Linked DNA regions of Homo sapiens: all the other regions are linked to region 2. Evidence: promoter capture Hi-C in 16 types of primary human blood cells and fetal thymus (Javierre and others, 2016). All regions are on one chromosome and are shown on one strand. The core of a region is centred on a gene start or on the middle of the fragment in contact, and the rest is flanking DNA. Distances in the headings are between cores, read along the strand shown. Region 1 overlaps DLGAP5 (DLG associated protein 5). Region 2 holds the start of EXOC5 (exocyst complex component 5). Region 3 overlaps FBXO34-AS1 (FBXO34 antisense RNA 1). Region 4 overlaps MAPK1IP1L (mitogen-activated protein kinase 1 interacting protein 1 like).

What was found. Contacts are between HindIII fragments. The CHiCAGO score rates a contact against its expected background, and 5 or more counts as called.
Region 1: a fragment that was not itself captured here is called in contact with the fragment with the promoter of EXOC5 in region 2 in 3 of 17 cell types (fetal thymus, total CD4 T cells and naive B cells); the score reaches 9.6 in fetal thymus.
Region 3: a fragment that was not itself captured here is called in contact with the fragment with the promoter of EXOC5 in region 2 in 7 of 17 cell types (fetal thymus, total B cells, monocytes and 4 more); the score reaches 12.8 in fetal thymus.
Region 4: a fragment that was not itself captured here is called in contact with the fragment with the promoter of EXOC5 in region 2 in 1 of 17 cell types (fetal thymus); the score reaches 7.1 in fetal thymus.

What each region holds. Positions count from the first base shown.
Region 1 is chr14:55,180,616-55,183,737 of GRCh38, reverse strand. It overlaps DLGAP5 (DLG associated protein 5), which reads left to right. Exons shown (of 19, transcript NM_014750.5): 3 at 1-178; 4 at 1,306-1,368; 5 at 2,441-2,525; 6 at 2,960-3,082. Among named protein-coding and RNA genes, the nearest start is that of DLGAP5, 9.4 kb to the left of the region's middle. The HindIII fragment of the contact is 1,505 bases long and covers 755-2,259 here.
Region 2 is chr14:57,267,008-57,270,477 of GRCh38, reverse strand. EXOC5 (exocyst complex component 5) reads left to right here and starts at 1,573. Exons shown (of 18, transcript NM_006544.4): 1 at 1,573-1,856. The coding sequence starts at 1,830. AP5M1 (adaptor related protein complex 5 subunit mu 1) reads right to left here and starts at 1,507. Exons shown (of 8, transcript NM_018229.4): 1 at 1,090-1,507. The coding sequence starts at 1,163. RefSeq lists enhancers at 1,343-1,542, 1,190-1,773 and a silencer at 2,083-2,142. The HindIII fragment of the contact is 4,317 bases long and covers 75-3,470 here.
Region 3 is chr14:55,266,954-55,270,010 of GRCh38, reverse strand. The region is part of intron 1 of FBXO34-AS1 (FBXO34 antisense RNA 1); the gene reads left to right. Among named protein-coding and RNA genes, the nearest start is that of FBXO34, 2.9 kb to the left of the region's middle. The HindIII fragment of the contact is 217 bases long and covers 1,261-1,477 here.
Region 4 is chr14:55,066,706-55,069,853 of GRCh38, reverse strand. It overlaps MAPK1IP1L (mitogen-activated protein kinase 1 interacting protein 1 like), which reads right to left. Exons shown (of 4, transcript NM_144578.4): 4 at 1-3,148. Among named protein-coding and RNA genes, the nearest start is that of MAPK1IP1L, 17 kb to the right of the region's middle. The HindIII fragment of the contact is 854 bases long and covers 1,084-1,937 here.

The DNA of each region.
Region 1 (3,122 bases), core at 258-2,757, 2.1 Mb after region 2:
TCTAGGTGATCAACGAAAACAGATGCTCCAAAAATACAAAGAAGAAAAGCAACTTCAAAAATTGAAAGAGCAGAGAGAGAAAGCTAAACGAGGAATATTTAAAGTGGGTCGTTATAGACCTGATATGCCTTGTTTTCTTTTATCAAACCAGAATGCTGTGAAAGCTGAGCCAAAAAAGGTAAATTTAGTGTCTTAATATAAAGGAATAGTTTCTTTTATTTGGTATTTTCTTCAAGACATTAAGTGACTAACCCCTTTCCCTTAGTCTCATTATTAACTGGTTGGTAGAAGGTGGGAATGACATAATAGTAGCTCAGAAGAATGAAAATCAGGTCTCTTAAGATAGCTGTAGGTAAGTTGAGATAGGATAAAACTAGGAAAATTGGTAGAATCAGGCTGAACAATGTTATGCAAAGGATTTGGTGTTTATCCTGTAGGTTTTGCAGAATCAGGAGAAGTTTATAAATAAGGGTAGTGCCGTTGTCAAATTAATAATTCAGGAAAATACCATAGCCCTAAAGATTTTAGTCTGGAAAGGGAAGCATTTATAGATAGGGAGACCAATTGTGAGACTATTGTAATAGAATAGATGGAAAGGGGCAGTGGGTTTTAAAAGGAAAAAATAGGTGTAAGACATCTAAATAAAGGCATTTGACAGGACTGGTGGCCAAGTAGATGGTGAGGGGTAAAGGAAATTGAAAAAGCAGAGAGAAGCTCTGCTGCTAAAAGAGATAAGGAAGATAAGGAACAAGCTTAAGTGGGTGCATGTTAATAACCTTTTTAAAAATCTTAAACTTGTGTGGGCCACCTAGATATTAGTAAAAATTTGGAAAGAAGGATGGAAATTGGTGCTAAGATGTCGATTTAGGATATAATATTGGGAATATGGATGAGTGTTTAAGCTGTAGGACTAAATGAGACCATTCCAATAAGGATATATAAAATTATGAAAAAGTGGGCTCTAGAGAGCACTTTTAGGTAGGCAGAAGCCAGGTACCAGGCTGAGGACTGGTCAGAGAGGCAGGAGAACTAAGAGAGGATAGAAGCTCATATTAATGATGATTCCAATACCTGGAAAATACGGTTTGAAATTTCTTTCTCACTGAGAAATGTGAGTAATTTTTGAAGTTACTAACTTAATTTAAATCAAGCTAGAACCAGAAAAAGGAATTTAAGTATCTTTTTGCTATAAGAGATTAAGGATAAAATTTAACTTTAAAATGGGAACTTTATTTTGTAATAAGATATGGAAGTAAACCTTTACCAGTTCATATTTTAAGTTCATCTTCTTTTGACTGTTCTAAGGCTATTCCATCTTCTGTACGGATTACAAGGTCAAAGGCCAAAGACCAAATGGAGCAGACTAAGGTATAGTTGATAGTAGATAATTGTTACTAAAATGATAAATTGCACTTTTTTAGTAAGTAAATTCATTTTAAATCTAGTATCAGATTCAAACATAATGATTAATTTACTAGAGTTAACAGGTACCAAAGTCACTGTTTTTAGTATGGTGATGTAGAGCAATTTCACTTAAAATATTTGCTCCAACATTCCGTATGAGATCCATGGCAAACTGTCTTTGTGTCACACTCTTGTTTTGTTTAGTGGGCTCCTATTATGCATTCCAAGTTACCTGCATGAAATGCATATGGGGAGGAAAGCACACAGGGTAGGTGTTATAAACTTACGGGTCTTCAAAATACTGTAATAGAGATATCAGGAGGGTTACTAAAACAAAGTGAAGTGGGCAAGAAGGGAAATAATATGCCTCTTTATCAGGTGAGGAAGCTAAGTTCCACGTATGCATATATATTTTGCATTGCTATGATGTTCCTGGTGTTGTAGGCTTTTGGATATAATAAACTAAATTCTCTTTGTGGAACTTACATGTAAGGCATTTAAAAAAATACATAATATGCCAGAAGATGATAAGTATTATGGAAGAGATTTTAAAAAGGGGAGATGGGGTGTACTAGAAATAGGTATGGGGTAGAATTTTGATTGGGCAGTTAAGGAAGGCCTCCCTGAGATGAAAGCCTTTTGAGTGAAGTCATTATGGAAGTGGAGAAGAGAACCATGGGAAAGCGCTTTTTATCCAGGAGAAGTATTTTCTAGGCAAAATTAAAAGGTCTTGAAGTGAAAGTATGTCTAGGAGTGTTTAAGGACCTTCAGAAGGCAAGTTATAGTGAGCTGTTTTTAATAGCTTGGGTTATTAGCATTTTCCAAATTCTGTGATTGTGAAAAAGGATGTAAGCTTTTTTGGAAGCTTAATGGAAAGCTTTTCTTTATCTCATTTTATTTGGGGTAGTTTTTTGTTGTTGTTGTTGGGTCATTTACGATGATCAGATTTCATATGAGGAATCAATTTACAGATTAAAAATATGATGGTCTGATTCATTATGCAATTAAATCACATAGCACCTAATCTCTTAAATAGATTGATAACGAGAGTGATGTTCGAGCAATCCGACCTGGTCCAAGACAAACTTCTGAAAAGAAAGTGTCAGACAAAGAGAAAAAAGGTAGGAATATTAGCAATTACTATAAATCCTCTGAGGCTACCACAGCCATAATTTTTTTTAAGTGTCTTGAAGGTCAACTGGAATTTGTTCGTTTGTTTGTGACAGAGTCTTGCTCTGTTGCCCAGGTTGGAGTGCAGTGGCACAATCATAGCTCACTGGAGCCTCCACCTCCTGGGCTCAAGTGATCCTCCCACCTCAGCCTCCTGAGTAGCTGCAACTACAGACTTGCCACCATGCCCAGCTGATTTTTATATTTTTTGTAGAGACGGGGTCTCACTATGTTGCCTAGGCTGGTTTCGAACTCCTGGGCTGAAGTAATCCTCCTGCCTCCCAAGTAGCTGGGACTACAGGCATTGCACTACCATGCCTGGCTTCACAGCAATAATTTCATAACTACAAGGGACATTTGATGTAGTTATTTTTTTTTCCCACAGTTGTGCAGCCTGTAATGCCCACGTCGTTGAGAATGACTCGATCAGCTACTCAAGCAGCAAAGCAGGTTCCCAGAACAGTCTCATCTACCACAGCAAGAAAGCCAGTCACAAGAGCTGCTAATGGTGAGAACTATTCCTTGATCAGTGACTGAACTAGAATGTT
Region 2 (3,470 bases), core at 324-2,823:
TTTTCATTTAAAATTAAAATCTTTTTTTTCTGCCTCAATCTCAATTCTACTATGGTACTACTTCACTATAAGCTTTCTTCAGGGAAGAACGAATTGTGACAAAAAAGAACTATCAATGGCCAGAGAATAAAAGGTGAAATAGACCCACTCGATTGCCACCAACATTTTACAATGAGTTACTGTACAATTCCCTTAACAGAGCTATTTTGATTACACAGGGCAAATTCTAATAGTGGGACCAGATCAACTTAACACAATATATGAAATAGTGAATACATTTTTTTGTGTTTCTATTTTCTTCAACAATTAGGAACTGTAAACTGATGATTTCTACCATTGACACATATTAACAAGATAAAAATAAAAGCCTGGGCGGGGCGCGGTGGCTCCTGCCTGTAATCCCAGCACTTTGAGAGCCAAGGCGGGCGGATCACGAGGTCAGGAGATCAAGACTATCCTGGCTAACACGGTGAAACCCCCTCTCTACCAAAAATACAAAAAATTAGCCGGGCGTGGTGGCGGGTGCCTGTAGTCCCAGCTACTCGGGAGGCTGAGGCAGGAGAACGGCATGAACCCGGGAGGCGGAGCTTGCAGTGAGCGGAGATCGCACCACTGCACTCTAGCCTGGGGAACAGAGCGAGACTCCGTCTCAAAAAAATAAAAACAAAAAAATAAAAGTCTGATATAACTTAGCATGGATTTTTCAGTAGAATAAGTTAAAATGTTCTGGAACGATTTTGTCAATGCATGTTGAAAAATCTGAAAATGTTTAGTGCTCAGTAAATTTTCTACCGTTCCCTTAGTCATCTCCATTTTAATTCTAAGCAGACGGAGGTCATTTTAAAACACAATACTAATAGAAAACATATACCGTAAATAATATGTACCAGTCATCAACTCAATTCTCACAACACTGTAAGGTAGGACTATTAAAATCTCCATTTAACAGACGAAACAGAGGTCTGTTAACTGGCTAGCCCAAGGTCACGCAGCTATTCGTGGCAAACCTGGGCCACGAAGCACCACAAAACTATGCTACTTCATCGATCTTCTGATCCATCATCCCTGAGGATTCAGATTTGCATTTACCTGGAGAATCTCACGGTGCCACAAAGTGGAGTTCCCGGTTCGTGGCTTATGAGCCACACTGCCCGCTGCGCCATGGTTAAGTCAGTAAAGCATTAGCTCATCTCATAATTAAGGTCGCCACCGAGGAACAGCGCAGACCGGCTTTCTCAGACAGACTCTTAACAGAAGCCCTGAGGCTCATCCTGCGCCGCATACCGGTCGCGCTCAGCAGAGAGGTTAGCTTTTTTAGGTGAAGTCACTAACGCTTCTGAGTCGCTCTAGGCCAACACACACCACAAAAAGTTCTAAGAACCCCAACCTATAACCTTGAGAAATTTACCTATACCCTGCAACTCCGGTATTTTCTTCCTCTAAATTCTACTTCCGGAATGGTGGCCCGCAAGGATCAAAGTTCCTCATACACGGTAGCGTCGAGCCTTTTTTCGGTTCTTTCGCCGCTCGTTTTATTCGCCGGCCCCTCCCGACAACCTCCCTGGCGCGCGCAGTTCCACTTCCGGCGTATGAGGCGGTGACAATGGGAGCAGCGCGGGCGGCGCCGGGAGGCAGCTGACAAGCGTTTGCGGCTTCGCTTCATGGCCGCTCTCCCGCCCCTCCTGGGATCTGTGGGGAGCTGGGGAGCCCGCAGCGGCCCGGAGCCGGAGCTGGCGAGCCGAGCGGAGACCTGTGCGCCGCGCCTCTGAGGCGCAGCATGTGAAGCGGAGACGGCATCCAGTGGGGGGCGAGCCTCTCAGCCGGCCGGGATGGCTACCACGGCCGAGCTCTTCGAGGTGGGCCCCGGCGGCTCTACAGGGAGTGGCAGGCCCGGGGTTTGCAGGCAGCTGGGTGGGCGGGCCGAGGAGCGGGCGTTTGCTGGCTGCCCAGGAGGAGCCCTCGGGAGAGAGGTGCGAAACAGAAGGGTTGGGGTGGCAGCTCCGTGTCAGCGCGGGCGGAGCGTGAAATGGGGGAGGGGTGCTTGGGGCCGAGGTGGGCTGGGCGGCCGGTCGGCAGAGAGGGGAAGCCGGGTGTCCCAAGGGAGGAGGGTTGCTTTTGTTTGTGGGGGCAAGAGGGAAAGTCTGGAAGGTTCGGGTGTTGGAAGATGTCTACTCCGGATGAGTAGTGGGAAGGGCTGACTCAGGACGAGGAAAGAGAGCCAGGAGCCTCAGGTTGGGCGAGTCTTGTCGCTGGGGTCCTCGCGGGAATAATAGGAGGAAGCCACTTGAGATCGGGACTCTTGGGGGCTTCTCGTTTTGAGTAATTATTCCATTAGTAAGGTTGCAGGTGGCATTCATAGGACTGCCAGTTTAACCTGACATTTGAAAAGGCTGGGACAATTTTTTTTTTTTTGGACAATAAAGGCCTACTTATCTCTTTCGACTGAAGAGAGATAGACTGAAGGGAGGCAAAATTCAAGTGAACACTTTATTTCATGTAATACATAATAATACACTCGAGGCATTTACGTGTATTATAAAATAAAAAAAGTTTATAAAATAAAACGAACACTTCGTTTCATGTATATAATGCACCTTAAGTGTATTATATGCATTTACATGTATTATAAAATCACCTAACTGCAAGCTAGAGAATCCTTAATATGTAATAGTGAGAATACTAATGTCTTTCCTCGAGCGTTTACAGTATCTAAACCTTAAAATTTAATTTCGTGAAGTCCGTTGTAAGAAGCTGTGATAAAAGTTTGAGATAATAGAATAGGAAAACTCTAATTAGGCTACAAAACAATGACACGTATAAAGCATCTCCTTGTGTGAAAGAAATGAAAACGGATAAGAAAAAGGAAAGAAAGACCCCTTTTTTGTGTGTGTGCTTGTGTTTCACATTGAGTAACAAAAGTGTAATAATTGAGAAGACTGTAATCCACAATAGGGAACTTCTCCATAAGTGAAAATGGTATCCTTTTTCTGCGTAAGATTCAGCAGTTTTTGTGGCTTACAATTTGAATGCCACAGTTTTAATAACAAATGGAAATTTACATTTGTTATTGTTACTATATTTTGCATATCAGTCAGCTTTTGGATAGATAATGCTTTTTTTGAGAGGAGTAATATATGTTATTGTTATAATAAGTTGTAATAAGACAGTAATTTGTGAATGAAGGATTGTAATTACAAGAAAGACTTCAGAGATATTGTATTTTCTCACTTAAGTGTTGGGAGATATGCTACATTAATTTCTGTAATTCCAAAATTGTGCCATCTGTTTATTGACACAAGAACGGGGAGACATTTTTCCTGCTAGGAACTTTTACTGTGTCCCTAGGTACTAAGTAGTGCTGTGGTTCCTTGTTTTATTTTTCACATCTTAAAAAGGGAGAAAACGATGAAGTTGTATGAGATCTTTAATTAAGGTATTTGCCGGCAAGCCAGCTCTTAACTGAAAACTGT
Region 3 (3,057 bases), core at 120-2,619, 2.0 Mb after region 2:
ATATGTGAGCAATATTAGCTCAATATATCATGATCATTTGAAGCTTCTTTATGTCATAGTTAGCTCAAAATTGTAAAACTTCAGTTTATCCTTTCAGATTCATCTCAAACACTGTCCTTCTTAAAACCTCTTGATTCCTTCTGGGCATGGTGGCTCACGCCTGTAATCCAAGCACTTTGGGAGGCCAAGGCATGCAGATCATTTGAGGTCAGGAGATCAAGACCAGCCTTGCCAACATGGTGAAACCCTATCTCTACTAAAAATACAAAAATTAGCCCGGTGTGGCAGGGCACGCCTGTAGTCCCAGCAACTTGGGAGGCTGAAGCAGGAGAATCGCTTGAACCTGGGAGGTGGAGTTTGCAGTGAGCTGAGACCACACCACTGCACTCCTAACTGGGCGACAAGAGTGAGACTCCATCTAAAAAAAAAAAAAAAACAAACAAAACTTGATTCCTGTTGATTAGAGGACTCAAAAAATTGATATAAAAATGAAATTAATTTTAAAAGACATAATAAAAGCCCGAACTATTAATTATTATATTTTTTCATCTTTTTCTTGAGGCAGGGTCTCACTATGTTGCCCAGGGTGGTCTCAAACTCATGGCCTCAAGCAATCCTCCTTTCTCAGCCTCCCAAATAGCTGGAATTACAGGAGTGAGCCACCATGCCTAGCCTATGAATTATTGATTATTAAAGTCCACAGACATAAAATTATTCTGTCAAATTGCTAGTAAAGTTTCTAAAATCTGATTCTCAATTTCAGTTCTTGTCTCAGATTGGCCAGTGAACCACACTTTAAATAGCCCCAGTCTAGGAGAAAAGAACTAGGAGAGAGCATAACCATGTTAGGCAAGAACTTCCCTTGATTTTGTTTCTCCATTTGTATAATGGCAATGATCCCCTAGAAGCAAAGCCAGTAGAGCCAGTATAGTTTATCAACCCACAGGTCCTGTGGTAGGTCTTCAGGAAGGTGCTCCCCAGGTGGGCATGGGGTGGCACATTGAGGCCATGGGACTGGTGAGAGCCGAAAGAAGAACAAGACTGAGGTGGCACAGCAGCAGAAAAGTTCTAAATATATATAGTATATATATTTGGTTATTCCATTAGTAATTAAAACTTAGTTGTTTCAAGCCAGCAAACATATTAATTAAAACTCAGTTCAAGGGATTTGTCTTGTATAGACTTGGTTTCATTTCTGTTCTTTGCTCAGAAAAAAAAAAAAAAAAAACTAAGAACTTACTGCTTATTCCTTAATAAGCTTACTCCAACCTCCAAATAAAAACACCCACTGCTATGGTTTGAACGTGTCCCCCAAAGTTTATGTGTTAGAAACTTAATCCTCAATGCAACAGTGTTAAGAAGCGGGACCTTTAAGAAGCAATTAGGTCATGAGGGCTCCGTCCTCATGAATGGATTAATGCCATTATCAAGGGAGTGGATTACTTATCAAGAGAGGGAGTTACTATAAAAGCAAGCTTGGCCCTCTCTATCTCTCACTCTGTTAGGTGTTCTCTTGCTCTTCCACCTTATACCATGGGATGATGTAGCAAGAAGCCCCTCAAGAGTTATGAACCCCTTGACCTTGGGCTTCCCAGGCTCCAGAACTGTAAGAAATAGATCTCTGTTCTTTATACATGACCCAGTCTCAGGTGTTCTGTTATAGTAGCATAAAACAGACTAGGACACCCACCATTTCATCTTCTCTCTCTCACCCCCCAACCCTCCTTATCAAACTTACTTCCCCGCTGCTGGAGAAAGGAAACCAAGAGACAGGCTCCATTAGACTTTGCATCTAGACCTACTTTGCTGCAGAACCTAGGCCGCTGGGTGTGATAATGCCTTTCCCTACCTACTTGACTGTGTTATTATAAAGACCAAATAAGAAAAGAGAAGCAGAAGTGCTTTTAAAAGTTTCAACTTTGCAAAAGTAAAGCATGTACTTAAAAAATATGCCTGGAATGTGGCCGTTGGAGCATGCTTCAAGCCCTGAGCTTATGCCCAGGTTTATGCATGTGTGAAGCTCATTGGTGATGACGGGGGGATGGGCAGGAGCTACTCAGCCATGAGAATATAAATATTATCCACAATAAATAGAACAACTCAGGGAAAACTAGAGCACCAAGGCAGCACACTGTCTAACAGATATGATTCTATCTTATAATTAAGATGTGGATGGTGAGGGACATAAAGTTGAATAAGTATTGAAACCCAGGAAATCATAGTTCTTATCCTTCTTATCCTTCTTTTTAGATCTTGTGCCCCTGTGAAAATCTGATAAGAGCTAAAAATCAAGAGTCTCTTTGGAGACTCTTAGCAGAAGTAAAAAAGCACACCCTGATATATACAGACAGTTTAGAAGATAATTTTAATTTTTTTAAAAGTTCCTTAGATTAACTTATCTTATAGTGATCTGCACTCTCATGGTGGGGCGGTGTAAGAGACATGTAGAGCAAGGGCAGCCCTTCCAGTACAATGGATGGGAAACAAATCAAGGTCCCAGATCCTCCTATCCCCACAGTATTGCCCTCAGAACATTCAGAAGGTGGTTTCTACACTGTCAATACAGTGAGCCACACAATTTCCATAGGTATCTCTCTTTTTTTTTTTTTTTTTTTGAGACAGGGTTTTTGCTCTGTCACTTAGGCTAGGCAGCAGTGGCACCAACTCGGCTCACTGTAGCCTTGACCTCCCAGGTTCAAGTGATCCTCCCACCTCATCCTTACAAGTAGCTTGAACCACAGATGCTCGCCACTGTGGCTGGCTAATTTTTTATTGTTGTTGAGATGGGGTCTCCCTATGTTTCCCAGGCTGGTCTCAAACTCCCAGGCTTACATGATCCTCCCAACTCAGTCTCCCAAAATGCTGGGATTACAGGTATAAGTCACTGTGCCCATATTTCACTTCTGATAGCATATAAAAGGAGAAATTCTGGCCGGACGCAGTGGCTTATGCCTGTAATCCCAGCACTTTGGGAGGCTGAGGCAGGTGGATCACAAGGTCAGGAGATCGAGACCATCCCGGCTAACATGGTGAGACCCCGTCTCTGCTAAAAATACA
Region 4 (3,148 bases), core at 261-2,760, 2.2 Mb after region 2:
GGGGAGTAGGGACAGACAGAGAAAGTTCCCTGACTTCATATTATCATATATACGGATAATCTGGTTACCAAGAGTAGCCTAGCCTTAAAAGAAGAGAAAATCACCACAATGGACACCATGTTGCTGAGAGGGTTTGCGGAGGAAGGGTGGTTTCCAGATATCCTTAGTGAATGCAGGTCACATGCAAAGAGGTATCTCAGGCCCTTTTTTCTTCCTTTTTGACAACAAATTTACAGTTAATTAGGCTCTGGACTTGCTCAGAGAAGCCCAGAATTGGGCCTAAAGAATAAAATAACATGAAAAATCTGTGAAACCATGAAAATACATTTTTTAAAAAAAGTTTCCAGGTATAATACACAAAAGCAAACAAGTTTATCTTAAAAAATACCAAGTATCACATCCATAGCCTATTCCTAATTATAATTACTTCTTAAAGCAACATTTGTCTTTGTTTACAAATACAGCAGCAGGTGATAAAACCTAGTATCTCAAACTGATTGCTTACAATTTATAATACAAACATATGTATATGTCTCAAATCACATTTTAGGCAGTTTAACTTAAAATGCATAGACAATTACATACATTAAATTTGTCATTACTGTCAGTGAAAAATCACAATTTCAAGAAGAAAATTACAACAAACTCATAGAGCACACATAAGAAGTCAAGTTCACTTAATGGCAACAAGTCAGTATCTGCTGATCAGTGACAGGCAGTGAAAGTGCCTTTATCCAGGGGTAAAGTGAAGAGGCAAACTATCCTGTTACTTTGCACACTTGAATTGTTGCGCTGATCAACACTACAATCTTGAAAAACATTAAATTCTTAAAAAAAAAAAAAGGCATGCCACATGTCACCCTTTAAGATGCCCAAAGGCTGGTTACAATTTCCACCAGTAGTGATCCTAACACGTTTAGGTAAAACTAATAATGAATGGGTATGCTAACAAATTCTGTAATGTTACTTATAGACTATGAGCCTCTCAAGGACAGGGATTCCCTTATAGCTGGCAAAGAACCTGGATCAAGGACATATTGTCTACTGAATAAATGACTCAGATGTTTTCGACAGCCAGAAGCTTGCCTGCCATTTACAAAATACTGATTATTTTATTGGCAATTTCTGTTTTACTTGGCAGAAATCTGAAAATAAAAAGTGTTTGTCTTCAATACTAAATATTGCTTTATTAAAATCAAAGTCTTCCCTGAACGCCACCTACAACTTTCTATGCATAGTACAATATATCAGTGTGATTTATCTGAATTTAGGCTTATGCTTTTCAAAAACTTGAATGTCTGTGCTTAAGTTTTATTTCCAGGCTTTCTAACCTTGGCATTTGATAAAGCTAGCTTCTATCATTCAGGGTGAGAAAATTGAGACATTGGCACTTATTGTTTAGAAGTGTAGGCAATTGACTGATATTCAACCCAGGCACAGTCTTGACAAAAACTCTGAGTAGAGCTTTTTTCATCTACAGTTTCAAAAGCTGTATATTTGAGAGTACCCCAGGTAGCACTAATTATTTGTGAGGTAATCATGGGCAAATTGATTGGTTTTTTAGAAAATATCCCAATAGTCCATTGTGGTGGTGGGACTGACTGAGGCAAAATATATACTTTTCTCTGCCCTATTACTATTCTCTACTGAAGACAACCAACAGTAAAATGCACAAAACAGTCAGTCCTTGGGTAATTAAAAAATGTATTGTCTATTTCTGAATAATCAATATATTACTTTACACAAAATAGGGCTGAGTCAGAGCTGTAAATGGTGTCTTCAAAAGCATGAAAAGATGAGAAAGTGGCAGGATGGGACAGACAAGCCAAGGTCTTTGAAGTGCTCCACTTGATTCTTGAGAACCGGGTGTGAATGACGACCTAAGGTCTATGTTTTAATTTTTGTCTTTTTGGTTTCAACATTTCAAAACCTAAGCTTCCAACTCCAAGAAACAGCATTCCTGAACACCTCAACTATTTCCATTAGATTTGAAAATTCTTCCTCTGAAGCCCAAATGTCAGCATATTCTATAATCTGTATCCCCCTCAAGACCAAATATACTTGCTAACAAGCAGTCTTTTCCATAAATCAGTTTCAGCCTAGCATGTCTTGTTTTGAAAGCAACATTGTTCCCTTTTAAAAAGAAAAAAAGGTCACGCATGGTGGCTCACGCCTGTAATCTCAGCACTTTGGGAGGCTGAGGCAGGCGGATCACGAGGTCAGGAGTTTCAGACCACCCTGGCCAACATGGTGAAACCCCCGTCTCTACTAAAAATACAAAAATGGGTGTGGTGGCGGGCACCTGTAATCCCAGCTACTTGGGAGGCTGAGGCAGAAGAATCGTTTGAACCTGGAGGCAGAGGTTGCAGCGAGCCAAGATCACGCCATTGCACTCCAGCCTGGGTGACAGGGCAAGACTCTGTCTCCAAAAAAAAAAGAAAAAAGGAAAAAAGCCTTTCTTGATGCTGTTCCCCATTTCTCCACTAAAACGCCTGCTTTTCTTAACTCCACACCGAACCAACCTGAAATATTTTGGCCCAGAATGCCAACAAGAATTGAAGAAAAGATGCTTTACAAAAATAACAATATAAAAGCAAATTATATTATCCCTTTTATCTCCATTCTTACATTAAAAAAAAAAAAAAAAATCGGCCGGACGTGGTGGCTCACGCCTGTAATCCCAGCACTTTGGGAAGCCAAGGCGGGCAGATCACGAGGTCAGGAGATCGAGACCATCCTGGCTAACACAGTGAAACCCCATCTCTACTAAAAAAAAAAAAAAAAAAAAATTAGCCGGGCATGGTGGCGGGCACCTGTAGTCCCAGCTGCTTGGGAGGCTGAGGCAGGAGAATGGTGTGAACCTGGGAGATGGAGCTTGCAGTGAACCAAGATAGCACCACTGCACTCCAGCATGGGCGACAGAGCGAGACTCCGTCTCAAAAAAAAAAAAAAATCTCCCCCAAATACCAGTTGCAAAGTCCTTGAAAACAAAGGGAGTACAATAGCAGTATGATTTAGGGCACACTGGACAGTATGGGTCACTAGCAAAATTATTATACTTATAGGGAGTAATAATCCCAAATTGTGTTCATGGCCCTTCAAATCCTTTAGCAACAGATTTTCTCCCAAAATCAATGGACTTCATAAT